Regions from separate parts of the Homo sapiens genome. Here regions 2, 3, 4 and 5 are each linked to region 1. Evidence: promoter capture Hi-C in 16 types of primary human blood cells and fetal thymus (Javierre and others, 2016). All regions are on one chromosome and are shown on one strand. The core of a region is centred on a gene start or on the middle of the fragment in contact, and the rest is flanking DNA. Distances in the headings are between cores, read along the strand shown. Region 1 holds the start of ARCN1 (archain 1 coat protein complex I subunit delta). Region 2 holds the start of HYOU1 (hypoxia up-regulated 1). Region 3 overlaps SCN2B (sodium voltage-gated channel beta subunit 2). Region 4 holds the start of JAML (junction adhesion molecule like). Region 5 holds the start of SLC37A4 (solute carrier family 37 member 4).

Region 1 (4,273 bases), core at 224-2,723:
CTCACAATTTGCACAGGCTGACCTTTAACCCCTGGTCTCAAGCCATCCTCCCAACTCAGCCTCCCAAGTAGCTGGGACTCTAGGATCATGCCACCATGCCTGGCTTAATTCCAGAATGTTTTAATTATTCCAGAAATAAATCTTACACTAATTAACTGTCACTCTCTATTCCTACCCTTCCTGAGCCCCTGGAAATCACTAAGCTAGTTTCTGTCTCTGTGGATTTTCTTCTATTCTGGATCTTTCGTATTAATGGAATCATATATGAGTGCCCCATTGTATCCGTCTTTTTTCACATAATATTCTCAAGGTTCATCCATATTGTAGCATGTCAGTACTTTATTCCTTTTTGTGACTAAATAATATTCCATTGCATATATATGCCACATCTATTGATGAATGGATTTGTTTGGATTGTCTCCACTTTTTGGCTACTATGAATAATGCTGCTATGAACATTAGAGTACACATTTTTGTGTTGACATATATTCAGTTCTCCTGGGTATGTACCTATGAGTGGAATTGCTCAGTCATGTGGTAATTTTGTTTAACTTTTTGAGGAACTGCCAAACTCTTTTCCAACGTGGCTGCACTATTTTACATTCATCCTCACCAACAATTATTATGATAGCCATCCTAGTGAGTGTGAAATGACGTCTCACCACGGGTCTGATTTCCATTTCCCTAAGGATATTCAACATTTCTTAATGTGCATATTAGCCATTTATATATCTTCTTTGGACACATATCTATTCAAATCTTTTGCTCATTTTAATTTTGTGTTTTCTACTCCCTCCATTTTGCAGATGAAGCCCATTTTTAGACAGGAATACTGTATTTGTCTTTTTATTGCTGAGTTATAAGAGTTCTTAGGCCAGGCGCGGTGGCTGACGCCTGTAATCCCAACATTGGGAGGCTGAGGCGGGCGGATCACTTGGGGTCAGAAGTTTGAGGCTAGCCTGGCCGACATGGTGAAACCCCGTCTCAACTAAAAATACAAAAAACAGCCGAGCGTGGTGTGGCGCGTGCCTGTAATCCCAGCTACTCCGGAGGCTGAGGCAGAAGAATCGCTTGAACCTGGGAAGTGGAGGTTGCAGTGAGCCGAGATCACGCCATTGCACTCCAGCCTGGGCGACAGAGTGAGACTCCATCTCAAAAAAAAAAAAAAAAAGTTCTTTATATATTCCGGATACTGGTCTTTTAGGCACACAGGTTATCCTGTATATTAAATAATAGTGGCTGTGCCAGCGGCTTGTTAAACTGTAAGATGTGACGCAAAATAAATGAAGGCGATGACAGTGAAAGGGGAGAGATACGAGGTTCCACAGCTGGAGGGTGAACGCCCCCTACACCTCCTGGGCTTAATCGTAACCGGAGCGGGGTACCCTCAATTTCCCCAGCCCACAGGCCCCGCCCCCCCCCCCGCCCTTTGACCTGCGCCGCTTCCGGTTGAAGACGTGGCTTGGGGCCGCCATCTTGGCAAGAGGCGAAGCGGCAGCGGTTCCTGTCAAGGGGGCAGCAGGTCCAGAGCTGCTGGTGCTCCCGTTCCCCAGACCCTACCCCTATCCCCAGTGGAGCCGGAGTGCGGGCGCGCCCCACCACCGCCCTCACCATGGTAAGATCCGAGCCAGGACCCGAACTCCTGGGGTCCGAGCCTCACCGTCTCTCCTTGTCGGCGGGCCTGGGGCAGGGGCCGGAGGAGCCCCGCCCTGAGGGTCTAGGGCAGAGTGCTTTTGCTCCGGGCTCGGGGAGCAGTGTGGCCTCCTGTGCCCGGTCTCCTGGAGATCCGATGGAGCTGACTCCAGTCCATCTGTCGTCGTGCCCGCTTCCGCACCACCCCCCAACCAGCTGGACTCCCTCGTTTGCTGGGACCTGCCCCTGAGACGGCCCGGCGTTTTTGCTCTGCGAGAACTTCGTGGTGGTGGTGCGGGTCCCAGGCTGCGGACCTCGGAACTGATGCTGTCCCGCCGGTTCCCTGGCGCTTAGGCTCAGCAGGCTGGGCCTGTCTCCGGAGGTTCTGGTCCTTCTGTTAATCAGAGCTTGTCTCCCACCCCCGGTGTTTGCTAGGCCGTTGATAACTCGAAATGCAAATCCACTGGTGTCCAGAAATTTTTCTTTTTGTTCAGAAGGGGGAAATGGAGACACAGAGCGGAAAGGAGTAACTTCTAACACTAATGTATAGGACCCAAGTGTCTCTGAAACCTTCCACTACTTCCGCAGAACTCACTTGTGTCCATTTGTTAGTGTGACTCGGGGTACATACACTGTGTAGACCACTGGGAAAATGTGAGCAGGTTCCAGAGAACACAGGGTTTGCCTTCAAGGAACTTATTGTCCAGGTGAAGAAAAATGTGTATGTGGCATGTCGTAGTCAGATGTCTCACAGGAGGTGGAGTAAGAGGGATGGGTTAGCCTCCGAGACCAGTTACTTGCCTTCCCATGCGTTATCTTTGTATACTCATCTGTTACAAGGATGAGAAAGGTTAATGTGGTTGAGGATGGAGGAAATCAGAACTGCTGACATCACTCAATCTTCCTTTATCGCTGTGATTTGTGGATATTCATGAAGTAGTAGACATTCTTTGGTTTCAAAAAAGCTAGTAATTTATTTTTCAGTGCACCTTATGTCCTTTAGTCTTTTGAAGGATGTTCTGTTCTGTTCTTTTTTATTCTTTTGTCAATAGATAACTTGATTTAAAACATCGTCCAGTGTACCTGAGAGATGGCAGAATGTAATTTGGTGGCAATCCTAATAAGTTCTATTGACAACCCTTTAGATAAGAACTTGGATAATGGGGGGAATTCATGCTTGGACTTTAGGCCACTGAACAGCTTTTCTCAGCCTCAGGTATATAAATTGCATCAAACAGGTTTGCCTCCTAAAATTTTTGTGTTGGACACAAAATTTCCAGAAACTTGTATTTTCAGTTTCTCCAGGAGGTTCTGTATTTGGTTAGTGATTTTGAAACTCAGTTCCCGTTTACACCCTGGAATTAATAATGCATTTTAGAGCATATTTTTATTTTAATAGTAAAGTTAAGGTCTTGTATTATATAAACCAGATAAAGGTAATCTTTCTAAAAATATTCTTTGTTAAAAGGTTCTTGGAACTTAGTATTTTTAATTCATTGATAACTGAGGGATGGTAAAGCCCTACGTGATATATATAAAATATAACTTTTGCATGCTATTTTGACATGTGTACGTATACATAGAGTTGTGTCACATATTTCTGAATTATTTGGGACTTAACATGATCCAGATACCCACAGATTTGTGTACTCTGGAGAACAATTTATCTCAGTACATTCTGCTCTGTAGAGTGTTAAGACATTGGTATGATTTCTGTGTAATGTTTTTGGGTCCTGCTCCTTTACAAACAGATCCCTGGACAGTAGAAATGTCCAGATAGGGTGAAATTTTTATCTAAAAGTTGTATCAAAATTTCCAGCGTTTATTTTAGCTCAACATTTCATTATGAAATTTTCCAACATCTGGAAAAGTTGAAAGAACTTTGTAGTGAATACCCATATAACCACCAACTAGATTCTATAACTAACATTTCACTATATTTTATCATGCATCTAATCATCCATCCATCCCTCTCTCCATTAAAAAAAAATATACATTTCAAAGTAAGTTGCAGATATCAGTACGTAAACATTGATTTTTTAAAAAATAAATTCCCTTTGGCTTTAGTTATTGAAGTGCAGAATGTCCTAGACTGCAAAGTTCCAATAGATAAATAAGTGAACAAATGCAGAAACAAATGCTTTCTCATGACTTCATCATAAAATAAAGTACAAAGAAAGGCATCTTTTGATTTTTTTTTTTTAAAGAGACAGGGTCTCACTATGTTGCCCAGGCTGGAGGGCAGTAGCTATTCACAGGCGCTATCATAGTGCACTGCGGCCTAGAACTCCTAGCCTCAAGCAATCCTCCCGCCTCCATATCCCAAGTAGCTGGGACTGTAGGCATGCGGGCCTTGATTTGATCTTTTTTTTGTATTCTGCAAATTAATGAGAACATGTTCTGACTTTTTTTCTTGTTTGTTTGGTTTTCGAGACGGATTCTCGCTCTGTCTCCAGGCTGGAGTGCAGTGGCACAATCTCAGCTCACTGCAACTTCTGCCTCCCGGGTTCAAGCTATCCTCCTGCCTCAGCCTCCTGAGTAGCTGGGACTGCAGGCGCCTGCCACCACGCCCAACTACTTTTTTGTATTTTTAGTAGATACGGGGTTTCACCATGTTAGCCAGGATAGTCTCGATCTCCTC
Region 2 (4,486 bases), core at 860-3,359, 480 kb after region 1:
CCAGGCATTAAGGCAGGACAATCAGGAACACACACCAATGAGGAGCCCAGCAGCGTTGCCGAGACCACCTTCCCCAACAGAGCACTCACGAGCTGATCTGAAAGTGCACAGTCTGCCTCTGTGGGTCGAAAGTCAGCTCGTGCTCCGGGAAGCGGGCCTGGTAAAGAGCTACATGGGGGTTATCTGCCTGCTTCCCCAGGAGGTGCTGGAAGTAACGTAGCGTAGCCTTTGGATTCTTAATCGCCTGAGGGGTGAAGAAGGAGCAGACTAGTATTAGGCTCCCAAGTCCACCATTACCTACCTCTTACATCACAGAGACTGATAAGGAAACAGACTCTGGGGGCTGCCATCTCCTCTCCTCTGCCCACCACTCTGGGAAGAGGGACTGCTAGCTCACCATGCTTGCTGCACTGTCTCCAAAGAATCTTTCATTTTCTTTCAGGGTCACGATCACCGGTGTTTTCCTCCGAGATTCCCTGAGGAAAAGAGATTTTGGGCCCAGGTGCCTGCAGCAGAAGGACTCAGAAGCCTCGACACTCACACACATTTAACCACTCAGATGCCGAAGTCTGCTGTGGGCACTATGACTAACACATTCACACTTGGAGCCCAGACTCCCTCGTTCCCCACCCTTAACACGGGGGCCACCCTCACTTATTCAAGACAATTTCCATGGGCACTCCAGGTTTGACAATGGCCACCTTCATGGACTCACTGCCCAGGTCCACAGACATCACTGCCAGTGTATCTGAAGGGAAAAGAGGTTTGTCAGTTAGCTCTCCCTTCGCCCACCTTCCTGGGACTCCCTCTAATCAAAGCATACCACTTTCCATGGGTAAACGAAGATGGCAAAAGACAAAAAGGCCTGGACCTAACAACTCAAGAGACTTCTGGCCAACAGCCCCAAGCTCAATTCCCATCATGCATCCTTCAGTCATCATTTATCCATTTGCTCCCTCTACTGGGGTACATACCACTCAGTGCCAACAGGTCTGCCAAGAGCACAGCCACCAAGGCCCAACAGACTCGCCTCCTCGGCCTCTGCCTCCTAACTTTGTCTGCCATAGTGCCCCTGGGGGAGGCGAAGAAAGAAAACACTTAAAACTGGATACCCGGAGTGAAGGAGACAGAATCACATCCCAGAACGGAGAGGCTGTAAGATTCATATCTACTTCATTCTTACCCAGGGCAGATCAGCCTACTTCTCCCCTTCTCCCTCCTGATGGGTACAAACCATTCTCTAATCATCCCAGCAGCGCCCACACAAAGGCCCAAGTGAAAGAGCATGGGTCCTCGGCTTTGCCACATCCCTAAACAGAGAAGCTAACAGGACAAGAGAAAGGAGACCCGAGCCTTTTGTCCACCACACAGGCAGTGAGTGGCGCACCGCAGCACTGTGCCTGTTGTCAGACACCTGGGGTGCGGCCAGGGATCCCCGCCCAGGGCTCAACCACCTCCCCACACCTGGAGCTCCCCCGCTGACGGGGAAAGCCAGCTGGGCCTGGACGGGAAGAGAAAGGTAATGACGTTGGGGGTAGCTAGGATGAAGGAAAGGCCTATCTCCTCCTCGGCATCCCTGCGGGTTGTCCCGCCCCCTCCCCTTTCCCAGCTCACTCCCCGGCCCCGCTGTGCCCACAGACGCAGTGCCAGGGGCGGTAAGGTTCCCCGCCCGGCGGGTAGCCGTTACCCGGTGTTCACCTAAACCCCACCTGACGAAGGCGGCGGCTCCCACTCCCGGAAACGGATCCCGGCCCGCCCCAGCAAGTGGGGACAGACCGGGGGCCGAGCTGCGTGCCCCCCGGTGCGAGGCCGAGCGCCCGGCGTCCGCGCGGCCCTCCCTTGCGCTCCCGACCCGCCCCCGGAGCTCGCACGCTGTCTCCCCTAGGAGGGGTGGCCGGCCCGCACCTCCATCCACCCCCGCTACCTCTTGCCTCCGCTCCTGCGGCCCCAGCTCTGGGACAGACGCGGCACGAACGTACCCACGAGGCCGGCAGCGCCCCCCACCCGCGCCCTTCACAACTCCTCTCGGTTTGCAAACTGTTACATTAGCCACCAACCTCTCGGCGGCGTCTCGCGCACCAGCCGGCCCCGGACGCGGCGCGCGCTCATTGGAGCCTCGGCCGCCCGGCCCTGCGCTGCGCGCCCGGCCCCGCCCCCGCCGCCCCGGCGCGCGTACTCATTGGACCACGTCCCAGGCCCCGCCCCCTCCCTTTGCCAGCCTTGTAATGGGGCGGCGGAGGGGACCAGCCACCGGTTGGGCAGAAGCAGCCGGCGTCGGCCTGGGATTGGACCACGTCACGGGGCCAGCGCGCTCCACTCCTTCCTCCCCAGCGCCGGCCCCGGGGCGACCGCGGGACCTTTTCCGGCGCTGGATGCTTTGCTGCCGGGGTTCGGGAGTGACCTGCGCCTAGAGCAGGTCGGGCGCACTGCAGTCCCGCACTCGGGGCTCTTCTTCCGGTCACCTGTAGAGCCCGGCCGAGGAATGGAATAACAGGCGTCCTGTCCGCAGCCCCGCGGAGGGGGCGCTGGCCTGCCGGTTAGTATTGAGGTGCCCTAGGCTTTGGATAGACGTTGGAGAATGGCTGTCCCTCGGACTGAGTCCGTCGCAACCCCCTCTGTTTTACTGAGGAAACTGAAGCCACAGAAAAAGATGTTTGCTGATGGGTCAGAGATAACCGATGCATTCGTCGCAGAATCTGGCCAGGATTTCTTAGGTTAAGCCCCACTCATTTGTATAAGAAAGAATATTCCAAACTTAAGTACTACACACAAAAGACACTTTTATTTGTGAGGCTATAGTTGGTTGAGCTTGTGTGCACCTTCTCCTATTTCTGTTCTATTAAATCTTGTGAACATTTCTCTACTCTTTAGCTGTTTCTGTCATAGAATGACAGAAGCACCTCACTGCCTTCTCTTTTAACTTACAGCTCCATAGAAATGTGCGCAGTCGCCCGGGCGCGGTGGCTCACGCCTGTAATCCCAGCATTTTGGGAGGCCAAGGCGGGCGAATCACTGGAGGTCAGGAGTTCGAGACCAGCCTGGCCAACATGGTGAAACCCCGTCTCTACCAAAACTACAAAAATTAGCCAGGCGTGGTGGCGGGTGCCTGTAATCCCAGCTACTCACGAGGCTGAGGCAGGAGAATTGCTTGAATCCGGGAGGCAGAGGTTGCTGTGAGCCCAGACTGCGCCACTGCACTCCAGCCTGGGCGACAACAGCGAGACTCCTTCTCGAAAAAGAAATGTACGCAGTCCTTGGAGACTGCATTTTCCTTAAGTGTGGATGGAAATAAGTCATCTGTTTTCTCTCCTACTAAGTTGATGCCTGGCCACCCTTCACAGAAAGGCCCGCTTGAAGACCCTGGCTGTCAGGGCCAGGGTTGTGTCAAGCCTGAACTTGTTTAAGGAGCTCTTAGCTCTTCCTTTCTCTACATTTTTCGTGATGCTTAGGTGGAGAGTGGTCCGGTGTCTATGCTTAGAAGGAAAAATTATTGGCAGTCCCAGAGAGAGTCTATTCTTCCTTTTTTTTTTTTTTTTTTTTTTATTGATCATTCTTGGGTGTTTCTGGCAGAGGGGGATTTGGCAGGGTCATAGGACAATAGTGGAGGGAAGGTCAGCAGATAAACAAGTGAACAAAGGTCTCTGGCTTTCCTAGGCAGAGGACCCTGCGGCCTTCCGCAGTGTTTGTGTCCCTGGGTACTTGAGATTAGGGAGTGGTGATGACTCCTAACGAGCATGCTGCCTTCAAGCATCTGTTTAACAAAGCACATCTTGCACCGCCCTTAATCCATTTAACCCTGAGTGGACACAGCACATGTTTCAGAGAGCACAGGGTTGGGGGTAAGGTCATAGATCAACAGCATCCCAAGGCAGAAGAATTTTTCTTAGTACAGAACAAAATGAAGTCTCCCATGTCTACTTCTTTCCACACAGACACAGCAACAATCCGATCTCTATCTTTTCCCCACCTTTCCCCCTTTTCTATTCCACAAAACCACCATTGTCATCATGGCCCGTTCTCAATGAGCTGTTGGGTACACCTCCTAGACGGGGTGGTGGCCGGGCAGAGGGGCTCCTCACCTCCCAGAAGGGGCGGCCGGGCAGAGGCGCCCCCCACCTCCCGGACGGGGCGGCGGCCGGGCGGAGGCGCCCCCCCACCTCCCTCCCGGACGGGGCGGCTGGCCGTGCGGGGGCTGGCCCCCCACCTCCCTCCCGGACGGGGCGGCTGGCGGGGTGGCTACGGCGGGGCAGAGGCGCTCCCCACATCTCAGATGATGGGCGGCCGGGCAGAGACGCTCCTCACTTCTTAGACGGGATGGCGGCCGGGAAGAGGCGCTCCTCACTTCCCAGACTGGGCAGCCGGGCAGAGGGGCTCCTCACATCCCAGACGATGGGCAGCCAGGCAGAGACGCTCCTCACTTCCCAGACGGGGTGGCGGCCGGGCAGAGGCTGCAATCTCGGCACTTTGGGAGGCCAAGGCAGGCGGC
Region 3 (4,272 bases), core at 1,773-4,272, 400 kb before region 1:
ATACTAACAAAACCTGTTATCGCTCCCACATTCCGGATGAGGAAGATGGAGCACAAAGAAGTTAAGAGACGAGCCCAAGTTCACGGCTAGTAAGAGGCGAAGCTAGAATCTGAAGCCAGCCTGCCTGGCTCCAGACTGGGTTGAGGCATTGAAGCTGAGTGGTGAAGTGAGCCCCATTCCAAGGCATCCGATCTCTTGCCGACTATATGGCAGGTCCAACTCCAGGCAGGCCCGCCAGCAGGGAATTGTACCATTTAAAGGAACCTCCATACAAGGGGGGCCCACAATCTTCCTGGTTGTCCCATTTGAGACCAGGTCTGGGGCCTGTGTCTCCTGATTTTCAACTCACAGAAGGGAAAAGATCATCAACGGGATGAGGCTTCTGATCTTAGATCCAAAACCTCAGCAGTGGCGGGCCACCCGCTGTCTCCAAGGCACATCTGGGCCCTCAGGCCTCGTGTCATCCACTGTTCTAACTAGCCCATCTTGCAGAGACTATAAAAATTTGCTCATCTGCCAAATGCTGTCTCTTGCAGAGACTGGAAGTTAATCTCTTCACTCCTCTTTCCACCCTACAGCAACCTATGAGGTAATTATTTTCTTCTTGGTTTTTTTTTTTTTTTTTAAGTGTCTAAACAGATGAACTGTCTCCCGGGGCAGCCCCTGCCTCCCAGGTGAGTGTGGCATCCAGCCCGTATCTCCGCACCTGCACTGCCTTACCATCCAGACCCTTCCTGCTCAAGGGCCTCCCCAACCCCGGCCACTCCAGTCCATCCCCGTGCAGCCAGGAGCAACCCACCCTCATCACTCCTCACCTCCAGACCTCCAACGGCTACCCACTGCTTTCAGGATCAAGTCCAGGCTCCTGGGCACAGCTTCCAAGCCCTTTGGCATCTGGGACCAACCTATACCCTAGCCTCATCCCCTGCCAGCCCCCATCCCCCCAGGTCTCCTTCACTCCAGTGACCCCAGTTCTGATTTTTTCTGAAAACACCACCTTCCTTCCCTTCTCCATGCCTTTGCACGTATTTTTGCTTCAGGTTGAGAAGCTCATTTGCCCTCCTGCCCCTGGGCCCCTCCTACTTATTCTTCAGGTCCCAGCTTACAGGGCATTAGCCTCGGTGACTGTTTCCCCATTGTCCTTGTCCTCACCCCAGCCCTGTTCCTATCTCTTCCACATGACTTGAGGGCAGAATGGCAGGATAGTTAACCTCCCAGTGCCTCAGTTTCCTCATCTGTAATATAGGGGACAATAAGCCCAACTTCATAGGGCTGTCGAAGGATTAAATGACTTACTACCTGTATGAAGCTCAGCACAGTGCCTAGCACATGGCCTGGACAAAAGTCAGCTGCGACTATGATGAGCATTATTGCTATTATTGTTGCCATACATACAATGTTGTCTTGTTATTATTTGTTCATGGGCCTGTTTCCCTCTAGAGGCTCCGGGGAACTGACTCCTATTCATCTTGGTATCCCTGGCACCCAGGACAGTGTGTGGCAGAGTGGGGACTCAATAAAGTCTACTAAAGGAAGAAGAGACAGCTTTCTCTCCATGTCTGGGTCCCCACCACCACAAGCAGCAGATATGTGCAGTGGGCTAGAGTGAGGACTAGACTTCACTTTCTTTCTTTCTTTCTTTCTTTCTTTTTTTAAGAGACAGGGTTTGGTTCTGCTGCCCACGCTGGAGTGCAGAGGCATGATCACGGCTCACTGCAGCCTGGAACTCTTGATACTCCTTCTTCAGCCTCCTGGAACAGTTAGGACTACAGGTACATGCCACCATGCCTGGCTTATTTTTCTTTTCTTTTTTTTTTTTTTTTTTTTTTTTTTTTTGTAGAGACAGGGTCTTGCTATGTTGTCCAGGCTGGTCTCCAATTCCTGGCCTCAAGCGATCCTCCCACCTCGGCCTCCCAAAGCACTGGGATACAGGCGTGAGCCACCATGCTCAGCCCAGACTCCACTTTCTATGCCTCCACTAACATAATCCATACATTGGTAAGCAGGCCAGTGACTGTGGAGTCAACGGTCTCAAGAAAAACTTGAGGGAAGCCCAGTCATTTGAATTGTTTCTGGCTAAAACTAGCCTCATATGCTTCTGCCGTGGGTAGAGCTGGTTGCCCACCTGCCCTTTCTCTTTGCCACCTCCATAGTCATCCCCACAAGCCCAGCCCCGACAGAGTCCCCTCCCTCGTCACTTGTGGCATCCTCCATCCTGGGGATCGATGCTACTGCAACACCACCAAAGTTCCACTGTCAACTCGGCCCTCAGCATTGGAGTGCCAGGGACATGCCTCATTACAGCACCAATCAAGTTCAAGTTCAAGGTCCCCATTCCTGCATCCTCTCCCACTCAGCTTTGCAGAAGCTTTAGCTTCCTCCCACTACCATCTCCCCACCCCAAACACTCAGACCTCTTCATCGCAGACTCCCTCTTCCTCACCCTAGCCCAGAGCTCTGGGTCCTGGTCACTGAGCCCCCTTTCTATCTTTACTTAGCCATGGCTCTCACCAGGCGGCTTCTCTCCTGCACGAAGTGCTTCCTAACTCCTGAGGAAAGGGTCCTGTCCTCCAGCTGGGCCTCCTTACAACAGGCCACTCACCCAACTCCCCTTCTTTCAGCCTGTCCTGAGACTCTGATCAATTAGGTACTGTTAATATAGCAGTGCCATTTCTTGAACATTGGGGAGTGGAATCCAACGTTTAAGAGAATGTGCTGAAGTCAGACACAGGGAGTTCAAATTTCAGCTCCCGTTACCATAGTCATCTGTTTCCTCCCTGTAACCTGAGTATAATAGAATCTACCTCCGATTGCTGTGAGGGCTAAACAAGATACACAGTGCCTGGGCTCACGAAAAGCATTCTTATGTTAGCCATCGTTGAGTTCCTGCCATGCACCAAATCACAAACACGTCAGGCAGTAGGCATTCTTTAGTTTACCCGGGAGGGAACTGAAGCTCAGAGGGGTTGAGTAACTTGCCTGTGATCATTACGTAAATGACAAAGGTGGCTTGAAACCCAGGTCCTGCCAGAGATTCCATAGCATTCCTGCTCTGATGTTAATATGCCAAGTAACTCAGCAAAGCAGGCTGGCAGGGCCTCTGCACTGTCTGTGTTTAGCACTCCTACTCCAAACCCAGCACATCACACCACAGAAAGAGAGAGAGCCTTTGTGGTGGGGAATAGTTCCATCAACAGTCCTTGGACTTGACTCTCAGTTGCTGCTCCAGCAATAAGTAAGTTTAGGAGCAAGAATGAAACTCTACAAAGCAGGCTTGCAAATAACTTTCTAGCCCACTTCCCCACCAGGAAGTCTCTGAGTGGTCAAATACAAACACTTGACAGGACAGTCTGCAAGACTGGGCTGGGCAGTTCTGAGGCTGGATTTAAAGGGCTGCAACCTCGCTCAGCCTGTGGGTTCCATTTTTTTCCTGAATCTCTACACCTGGCCCTTCCTCCATTCCATCCGGCCCAAGCCAAAGGTGCCTTCTCCATCAGTGCGTGCCTCAGCAGGTCTCCTCCCAACCCAGACATCATTCCCCAAGCCCGCTTCCCACCTACTCCCACACACGTTCCAACAGATCAGTGAGACCGAGTGCCAAGAAGCCAGACCCAGACTCAACTTTCTGCCACCAGCTCCCCTGCACACTCTCCTAATACCCTAAATCCACCAGGATCAAGCTTCTGAAAAGAAGCCCCTTAAGGGAGCATTAAGTCCCAGGACCCCGCATTTGCAGCAACTCCAAAAAATAATCCCTGAAGAGACTGCAGGTCAATCCACTCTCTGCCCCACCGCCACGTAGGTCCACTTAGGGGAAATCCAGAGAAGATTCACCTCCCTTGACAATTGTCAGCCCCCAGCAACACTCAGATCCCCTGACCCAACATTTCTGTGACTAAGTAGTCCCAGGGTTCTGCACTCCCCAGCAACGTCCCTTCCAGTCCCCAGCACCTCCCCTCCCAAGGACACAGAGGGAAAGCGCTAGCAATGTCTTCTTTCCTATCCCCTGCCCCCATCCTCTTCACATTGCGGCTACACTTCTGAACCCTCGGGAGCATGCAGATGTGTCTAACTTACCCAAAGAGAAAAAGAGACTGAGCCCCGTGAGGCTGAAGGCAGGGCGAGGTAGCCAGGCATCTCTGTGCATTTTCAGAGACTGAGATGTTAGTCGGGTGGGCTACGGGAGAGGGTGATTTGAGGGGGCGAGAACTACAAGGGAGGAATGGTTGGATGCTAAAAAAAAATGCACGGATGTACTTCAAAGACATATAC
Region 4 (4,542 bases), core at 1,915-4,414, 350 kb before region 1:
TTGGGGCAATTCTAGATCTTGTAAATTGCTTACCATCTCTTTGGAGACACCTTGTGTGTCCCTGTTTAAGTTATCCCCTTACTTAAGGTTTATTAATTTCACATAGGAGGTTACCTTTAGGTAAAGATTCAAAAGCCAGAAATATTGGCCATTTGTCCTGGCTAAAATCTGGTAATAAAAGATTTTTATAGGATTTTTATTTTGAGAACTCCATAGTCAGAAATCAACTTAATTAAAGACGATATTTGGGCTGTATGTATACAGATATTGTTTTAAAAGCCCCTGCTGGCCAGGCACAGTGGCTTATGCCTATAATCCTAGCACTTTGAGAGGCCAAGGTGGACAGATCGCTTGAGCCCAGGAGTTTGAGACCAGCCTGAGCAACTTGGTGAAACACCATCTGAACAAAAAAAAAATACAAAAATTAGCTGGATGTAGTGGCAGGCACCTGTAGTCCTAGCTACTCAGGAGGCTGAAGTGGGAGGATCACTTGAGCCCAGGAGGCTGAGGCTGCAGCGAGTTGTGATCGCACCACTGCATTCCAACCTGGCGACAGAGCGAGACTCCATCTAAACAAACAAAAAGCCCCTGCTTTCCCTCTAAGAACTTCTCAGTCAATGGAATTTTGTCTTGATTTTCCATTTCTGTCTGTCTGTGTATTTATATGTGTTGTATGTATAGTATTTATATAAAAGAGCTCTAATTAATTGGCTTAAAGAAACTAAAATCAAACATTTTATCAGAAAAAATTGAAACTTTAATCTCTTTTAGGTCACGTGACTCTAATGATTTTTAAACATAAAGACAGTGTAAATAACATAAAAAATAAAGACAGTGTAAGTAAAGAATGTGTTTTGGTGGGAGGTTATAAGAAGGCGTGTGAATATGGTTTCTGTTAAAGAGAACGTAATTTTGTCTAGCTCAGAGGGTTTTAACTATTGGCCTCACCTAAAAGAGTAATGGGACAGCTGGGCATGGTGGCTCACGCCTGTCATCCCAGAACTTTGGGAGGCTGAGGTGGGGAGATCACTTGAGGTTAGGAGTTCCAGACCAGCCTGGCCAACATGGCAAAACCCCGTCTCTACTAAAAATACAAAAATTAATCAGGTGTGGTGGTGAGCGCCTGTAATCCCAGCTACTTGGGAGGCTGAGGCAGGAGAATCACTTGAACTCGGGAGGCGGAGGTTGCAGAGAGTCGAGATTGTGCCACTGCATGCCAGCCTAGGTGACAGAGTGAGACTCTGTCTCAAAAAAAAAAAAAAAAAAAAAGAGTAATGTGACAAAACTGATGGTTTAAGCAAGTTGAAAAGGGTTTGTGAAGGGTTAATCTCATGAAAAGTTCTGTGGGTATAAGCAGGTTGGCTAAGATTTAAAGGGGATTACTTAGTTTTTCCATAGGTCGAACACTGAAATAAAAGCACACTGATGTAGGGCCAGAATCCGGGCCCATGTGTCTGAATAATGGTTTTCTAGAGAATTTATTTGTTTAACAGAAAATTGTAAAGAATTATGAGAGGTTTGTGGACGTTTTACCTTATGGTCAAACTATGATTGTATAGATTTGTTTATAAGGTTTTATTAAGAATTGGATCTAACATTAATAATATACTAATGCAAAGGTGAAATTTTGCTTTCTCTCATAAACAAGATTTTTGCATAATATTTTAAAATAATGAGATTTTTGTTTACCTTTTAATAAACAACAGAAAAAGGAGGAGAGAGGAAATAGATTCGGTTGGCATCATGCTGTCTTTATTGCGACCTGCTTGGAAAGTTGACTCTCCCCTCTATCAGCAAGTAAAGATTTTTGCCTTTTAGAAATTTTGGAGTTATCATTTTGGCTACCTAAATGACTTGTAGTGACTCTATACTAATCTTCTCTGAGCAACTCTCCTCCATATCCTGTTGGGTAATGAGAACAAGTGGCACCCCCTCCCTCCAAAAAATCCATACCCCTTTATATTACAGAAAAGAAATCTTCAGAAAAGAGACATGCTACAATGAGACTACCATACAAGATGTGAAAGTTACCCCCCAAATTACAATATCATGAGACAAAATAAGGGAGAGCTGCTGTCTCTCAGTGTTTGTCCCTAGTAAGGACAACTAACCACTGAGCAAACGGACAACTGCACAGCCTTCTTTTACTCACAGAGTGTTGTCCACCTGCAGAGCCAAGTCCTCTCAATCTATCTGCACACTGCTGTGCACTTCTAGGCTCTCAGATGTTTTTAGGTCTACAAGTCCATATAACCACTCTAAGCCATGCGTCTTAAAATATGCCCTCATTTTCCATTGTTAAGCCATTGAATACAGACTGGTAGGTCACGTGGCTTCTGTAACACAGTCTAGGTCACATCGGTTAATGCTCTACGCGAATGGGACCCTGGAGGTCCTTACTCCTGCTCTCTTCTCCAGAGTAGGTTATACCTAAACCATCCTGCATCAGCCTTTCCCAAGGTCAGGGCTGTGCTGAGGGTGTAACAAGCATGGACAGTAGCCTAGCTTTCTTGGGAGATTTAAGTCTCGGGCTTCTAAAGGTTAAATATTGGTTTGTCTATAATGGGGAGAAGAAAAACAGTGGTATAACTATGTAAAATGATGGATATATTAATCTGCTTCACCATAGTAAACTTTTTACTATCTACATGCATCCCACAACATCATGTTGTATACCTTAAATACACACAATAAAATTTGTTTAAAAATAAAATTAAAAACTGTCTTCTAAAAAGAAAAACAGTGAAGAAAGAGCTCTGCTGTGAGCTCAAGAACAGCCAGTCACAGCTCCACCTAAACCCACGGGTGACTTAAAAGCTGAAGCCTTGTCATAATCATTGTCACGTACTCTTATTATGATGAAACTTTGCTCCTCTTTTTGCTGAGGAGATTCACCTAAGTTACTCTACACGACAGTAACTGAAACAGCACCCATTAGACTACTTTATGACATCCCCCTGCAGAGATCAAGAGTTCTGCAATCGCAGCTTCACAATCCTGAGAGACTACCAATTCAACCAGCCTTCAGGACTGGCACACTTCTGTGTGAGAAAAGTTCAAAAAATGGCTTAAGAAATTCAAAGCAACTGCTTACCCAAGATGAAGAGCACCCAGGGGAGGCAATGCACTGAAATCTCCCCACAGCTGCAGTCCCCAAGCTCAACTGAAAGACTGCTGCGAGCACTCTAGGTTAGGCTCAGAGCAAACCAAACACGTGCCTTCTGAAGTGGTTGCAGAGATGCAAACAGGAACCTCTAAATCAAGGTTCTCATTTCAGTCATCTGGCCCATTACCCAATTGTTATGTATACTTTCATTCTAAAAAGAGGTGACAAATTCAACCTACTGAGGTGAACCTCACACTCAGACCTCTTCAGGTGCCATCTCCCCTTTTAGATGACAAGCCCTCTGAGGGTAGGAGCTTGAATGGCACCAGGCAAATAGGTGCTGAGAAAGAAATCCATTTCATGCAAACAAAATACAATAAACGTAATATTAACACAAAACCTTCTGTGTTAAAGATACAGCAACCTCTTTTATTTTTCCTCTCAAAACAGAGGTGCAACCTCGCCAGGCAATCACCCAATCCCTGCTTCCAAAGATACGCCTGCCCAGTCCTCCAACTCACCATGTAGACATGAAAGTTTCCTCTGGCCATGTGATATCAGCATTTCCAGAATACAGGCAGCCATTGATTCCCATAGAGAACCTCTTGGGTGACTTGGACATCCTAGATTAGAACTCAAGGTTTCTTCACTTCAAGATACCTCTCAGTCTTAGTCACCACTTCAAAATAGGTGTTCTCAATGTACGCACCTTCAACCTCGGCTAGATTGGCTTGACCTAGGCATGGGCAGACTCATGGAACTTGTCCTGTATCATCTGAAAAGCTGTTGAACGTTTGCTCCCAAGCACTACGCTGCATGGTCCTTGAGAAGTGATGTGCTAGAGAGCCAGCAATCTCCACAGCATAAATATTCCCATCATAACCTATTTCAAGCTACCAACAGTTTAACAACTGGCTTGCAAAATTCCTAAAAAACTTAATACAGGTTGAGTATCCCTTATCCAATATGCTTGGGACCAGAAATGTTTCAGATTTCATATTTTTTTCAGATTTTAGAATATTTGCCGAATACATACAAGTTGAACGTCCCTAGTCTGAAAATCCAAAATGCTCCAATAAGCATTTCTTTGGAGCATCATGTTGGCACTCAAAGTTACAGATTTTGGAGTTGAAATAGCAACCACTCTTTTGTATTTTCAGATTAGGGGTACTCAGCCTGTAATCAGCTCTTGCTATGTAAGCTGGTTCCAGCACACCACGGAACCTCTGCAGGTTCTTGCGGGGGTACAGCTCCGACATGACTGGTTGCACGATGCTGAAAACCACTGTTAAATCAAGTTTAGCCTAAAGCTGCCTCCTTACATATTTTAAGTTTGGCCTAAAGGTTTCTCTGTACATCATGAACTATAACGTAAATGGAATAGTATACGGACTCTAGTCTACTCTTGTGCCAGTCACTGAGTTTGGCCAATCGAA
Region 5 (4,257 bases), core at 1-2,500, 460 kb after region 1:
CGGAAGGAGGCATGCCTGTGAGCCAGGCCAGCACCCTGTGTCCCCAGGATTTCTGCCTTTACCTCCTCTATCATGTCTGCTTGCCTGTGAAACCAGCTTTGATTAAAGGTTCAACCTAATTACTTTTGTCTGCCTGAGCCCAGGGGAGGCAGGGGTGGGATGAGCAGAGATGCCCTCTCTAGCCCTGCTCCCTCAGTCACAGAACCTTCTCATTCATTCACGGAAGGTTTATTAACTTACTAGTTGACAGGCACTGCACTTGGCACTATTAGTTTCTACACCCACTCACCACCACCGCACCAAAACACAAAGTCAGACACATACCCCGGCTACCCCACTTCTAAGCCTTCTAGAGAGGGCCTCAATCCGTGGAACTCTCAATACTTAGCACATAATAGATTTAATTGTTTCCTACAGTTGCCCCTTGTAATTCTGTGCAAGGGGGACCTCCCCAGTTCAGGTCCCACGGTGTCACACAGAAAGCCCCGCTAAGGGCTGAGGTCCTGATGGGGCCCCACAGAGCTACCTCTGGGTCCCCATTACCCTGCGACGTCAGTCTGGGCTTCCTTCGGGCTAGCTGGGGGCTGCAGGGTCTGGTTTCCAACCTGTGGGACGTTGGCAGGGGCCGCAAGCAGAGGGACTGGGCAGCTCGTGGGCGGGAAGGTGCCCCGGCGGGCTTCGGGCTGCAGGGCACAACCGTCCCGCCCAGGGCCCCGGCAACATGCCCCGGCTTTTCCGCTCAATTGGGAAAGCAACTGGAGCAGAAGGCGTAGGCGCACGCGGAGCGGGCGACCGCACGTATTCTCCCGGAGGCCCCGCGCTTCTGGCACCCAGAGGCTCAGCCTGGTAGGGGAGGGCCAGGCGGCGGGCGGGAGAGGAGGAGAGGCGGCGGGCGGCGAAGAGGCGGCGGGCTCGTGGCACCTGCCCAGCCCCGTGGGTCCTCACGCTACCCAGGACACGCTACTGTGCGGCTGGGAACCACGGGGGCCGGGGGTGCAGGAGCTGGAGAGGTGCGGAGACCACAGGACTGGCGCGATAGAAAGGGGTCTCGTGCTGGTGGTCAGGGACAGCGCCTCGGTGGCCCCAAGACCCATGAATTGTCTCTGGAACTGCAGGAACAGCTCCGGGTCGTATCGGAAGTTGGGGTTCGCCAACAATGGCTCCCCAAGACCTGAGATCCCCGCCCTCAGGTGACTCCCCTCCCCCGCATACCGCCTCCTACCTGAACAGAGGCGGGAGCCCGAATAGGACGGGGCGGGGCTAGCGAAGGCTGCGCAAGCGCGGCCGGCGGGGGCGTGGTCTTCGCCTGCTGCTTCGCTTGCCGGCCAGTGGAGTTCCCCGCCCCACATGCCGGGGACGTCGACTTACTCCCTCCCGCTGGTCACGCTGCTCCTTGGACGAACGAGCATAGCGCCCCTTAGGGGCTGGGCACGGCATGTCCAATTCTTAAGTGGTTGCATTCAACAAACCAGTTTTTAGTGAGTGCCCTCCTCTACAAAACACACCGAACACTAAGGTGATAATCATTGTTCCCAAGTTGCTCACAGTCTGGGAAAGGTGTTGTAGGAACACACAGTATTTTCTTTTTTTCTTTTTTTTTTTTTTTGAAACAGTCTCGCTCAGTCGCCCAGGCTGGAGTGCAGTGGCGCGATTTCGGCTCACTGCAAGCTCCTCCTCCCGGGTTCACACCATTCTCCTGCCTCAGCCTCCCGAGTAGCTGGGACTACGGGCGCCCACCACCACGCCCGGGTAATTTTTTGTATTTTTAGTAGAGACGGGGTTTCACCGTGTTTGCCAGGATGGTCTCGATCTCCTGACCTCGTGATCCGCTCACCTCGGCCTCCCAAAGTGCTGGGATTACAGGCGTGAGCCACCGCGCCCAGCCCACAATTTGGAATTTTAACTTGTGGTTAGATTGTTGGGGACAGAGACGGGGCCTGGAGTAAATATCAAATTCTAGTCCTAGACCCACAGCATTCTAACTGTATGACCTTGGTTAATCTCTATGAGCTCCCGTTTCCTACCAGCCTGGTAGATCATTGTGAAGACTCAACAGATGATTTAGATAAGAGCTCAGAAATTCTATAAGAGTTCTCAACAACAATGGTTTTCACTGATCCCAGTTAAGAGTTGTGAGGAGTAACAGTAGTGATGCTATTTTACAACAATGATGACTGTGTTCTCAGAAACAGAGCAAATGTTAACCCTGCCCATAGCTTCAACAGAAGGTAACATAGCCTAACAAAGTCCCCAACAGTCCCAATCAGCCAGCACTTCCCGACCTCTCCCCAATAGAAACGATATTATAAAAGCCTCAGCTTGTAAGCGATCAGGGTCTCAGCCAGACTCCTGACTGGAACTCCTTGCAGGCTTATTCCTGTGAATAAACCTGTTTGGCCGTTGAGTTGCCTCCTGTCTCTCGCTCTCTTCCCTTATATCTTCCTAACAAGAGTGGCTGAAGGAATTGTAAGTGTTCCAAAATTGAGAGCAAAGATCTTTTACTCCAGAGAAGATGGTCAGGGAAGGGAGGAGGAGGAGATGAGATAAAATAGGATGACAGGCCGGACGCGATGGCTCATGCTTGTAATCCCAGCACATTGGGAGGCCAAGGCGGGCAGATCACTTGAAGTCAGGAGTTCGAGACCAGCCTGGCCAACATGGTGAAACCCTGTCTCTACTAAAAATACCAAAATTAGCCAGGCTTGGTGGCACACGCCTGTAATCCCAGTTACTGGGGAGGCTGAGGCAGGAGAATTTCTTGGACCTGGGAAGCAGAGGTTGCAGTGAGCCGAGATCGTGCCACTGCACTCCAGCCTGGGTGACAGAGCGAGAGCCTGTCTCAAAAAAAAAAAAAAAAAAATAGGATGACGATGTCACTGAACTTCGTTAATTCAAAATCGGGGAGGAGCCTAGTTTGTACCAGGCACTGTGCTTTCAGCCAGGTAGATCCAAGGACCAGGAAACAGTTCCTCCGAAACCAAACCAGAGCAGATTCTTACTTTACCTAATAGAGGAGTAGGAAGCCATCAGGTTTTTCTCCGCTTTTATTTTTAAGATTTAACATACACATAATAAAATACAAAAAGTGCAGGAATCTTACATGTACAACTCAGTGATTTTTTACACATGTTAATACCCGTGTAACCACCACCTAAATTAACAGCCCTATCGTTTTGTTTTGGAAGTGGAGTGATCTCAGCTCACTGCAACCTCCTTCTCTGGGGTTCAAGCGATTCTCCTGCCTCAGCCTCCCGAGTAGCTGGGATTACAGGCATGCCCCACCATGCCCAGCTAATTTTGTAATTTTAGTAGGGGTAGGGTTTCTCCATGTTGGTCAGGCTGGTCTCAAACTCCTGACTTCAGGTGATCTGCCCCCCTTGGCCTCCCAAAGTGCTGGGATTACAGGCATGAACAACTGCACCCAGCCAACCCGGTTAATTTTTCTATTTTTTGTAGAGACAAGAGTTTCACCATATTGGCCAGGCTGGCCTCGAAATCCTGAGCTCAAGGGATCCACCTGCCTTGGTCTTCCAATATCCTGGAATTACAGGCATGAGCCACTGTGCCTGGTCGATGGTGTTTATTTGTTTGTTTGTTTGTTTTTGAGACAGAGTCTTGCTCTGTCGGCCAGGCTGAAGTGCAGTGGCAGGATCTCGGCTCACTGCAACCTCTGCCTCCTGGGCTCAAGCCATTCTCCTGCCTGAGCCTCCTGAGTAGCTGGGATTACAAGCATGTGCCACCACGCCCAGCTAATTTTTGTATTTTTAGTAGAGACAGGGTTTCACCCTATTGGCCAGGCTGGTCTCGAACTCCTGACCTCAGGTAATCCGCCCACCTCGGTCTCCCAAAGTGCTAGGATTACAGGCGTGAGCCACTGCGCCCGGTCTGTTTTTTTTGTTTGTTTGTTTGTTTGTTTGTTTGTTTTTGAGACAGGCTTGCTCTGTTGCCCAGGCTGGAGTGCAATGGTATCTTAGCTCACTCTAACCTCAAATTCCTGAGCATTGAGCGATCCTCCCAAGTAGCTAAGACTACAGGACCAGGCCACCTGGGTTCAAGCGATTCTTCTGCCTCAGCTTCCTGAGTAGTTGGTATTATAGGTGCCCGCAAACACGCCTGGCTAATTTTTGTATTTTTAGTACAGACAGGGTTTCTTTCTTTCTTTTTTTCTTTTTCTTTCTTTTTTTTTTTTTTTTTTTTGAGACAGAGTCTCGCTCTCTCGCCCAGGCTGGAGTGCAGTGGCACCATCTGGGCTCACTG

The links. Contacts are between HindIII fragments. The CHiCAGO score rates a contact against its expected background, and 5 or more counts as called.
Region 2: a contact is called between the fragment with the promoter of HYOU1 here and the fragment with the promoter of ARCN1 in region 1, in 1 of 17 cell types (non-activated CD4 T cells). The highest score is 5.6, in non-activated CD4 T cells.
Region 3: a contact is called between a fragment that was not itself captured here and the fragment with the promoter of ARCN1 in region 1, in 1 of 17 cell types (erythroblasts). The highest score is 6.2, in erythroblasts.
Region 4: the fragment with the promoter of JAML here is called in contact with the fragment with the promoter of ARCN1 in region 1 in 2 of 17 cell types (neutrophils and erythroblasts); the score reaches 5.6 in neutrophils.
Region 5: a contact is called between the fragment with the promoter of SLC37A4 here and the fragment with the promoter of ARCN1 in region 1, in 1 of 17 cell types (total CD8 T cells). The highest score is 5.1, in total CD8 T cells.

The regions. Positions count from the first base shown.
Region 1 is chr11:118,570,936-118,575,208 of GRCh38, forward strand. ARCN1 (archain 1 coat protein complex I subunit delta) reads left to right here and starts at 1,474. Exons shown (of 10, transcript NM_001655.5): 1 at 1,474-1,615. The coding sequence starts at 1,613. It also overlaps a transcript of IFT46 not described here. RefSeq lists enhancers at 1,136-1,265, 1,776-1,855. The HindIII fragment of the contact is 8,662 bases long and covers 1-4,273 here.
Region 2 is chr11:119,055,096-119,059,581 of GRCh38, forward strand. It overlaps HYOU1 (hypoxia up-regulated 1), which reads right to left and starts at 2,110. Exons shown (of 26, transcript NM_006389.5): 1 at 1,925-2,110; 2 at 975-1,072; 3 at 655-748; 4 at 398-476; 5 at 90-244. The coding sequence starts at 1,065. RefSeq lists enhancers at 1,208-1,708, 1,709-2,208, 2,568-2,617 and silencers at 1,688-1,967, 2,058-2,337. The HindIII fragment of the contact is 24,437 bases long and covers 1-4,486 here.
Region 3 is chr11:118,172,285-118,176,556 of GRCh38, forward strand. It overlaps SCN2B (sodium voltage-gated channel beta subunit 2), which reads right to left. Exons shown (of 4, transcript NM_004588.5): 1 at 4,078-4,272. The coding sequence starts at 4,147. Among named protein-coding and RNA genes, the nearest start is that of SCN2B, 2.2 kb to the right of the region's middle. The HindIII fragment of the contact is 1,312 bases long and covers 2,367-3,678 here.
Region 4 is chr11:118,221,847-118,226,388 of GRCh38, forward strand. It overlaps JAML (junction adhesion molecule like), which reads right to left and starts at 3,165. Exons shown (of 10, transcript NM_001098526.2): 1 at 3,095-3,165. The HindIII fragment of the contact is 17,664 bases long and covers 1-4,542 here.
Region 5 is chr11:119,029,627-119,033,883 of GRCh38, forward strand. It overlaps SLC37A4 (solute carrier family 37 member 4), which reads right to left and starts at 1,251. Exons shown (of 10, transcript NM_001467.6): 1 at 1,223-1,251. RefSeq lists a silencer at 706-865. The HindIII fragment of the contact is 18,338 bases long and covers 1-4,257 here.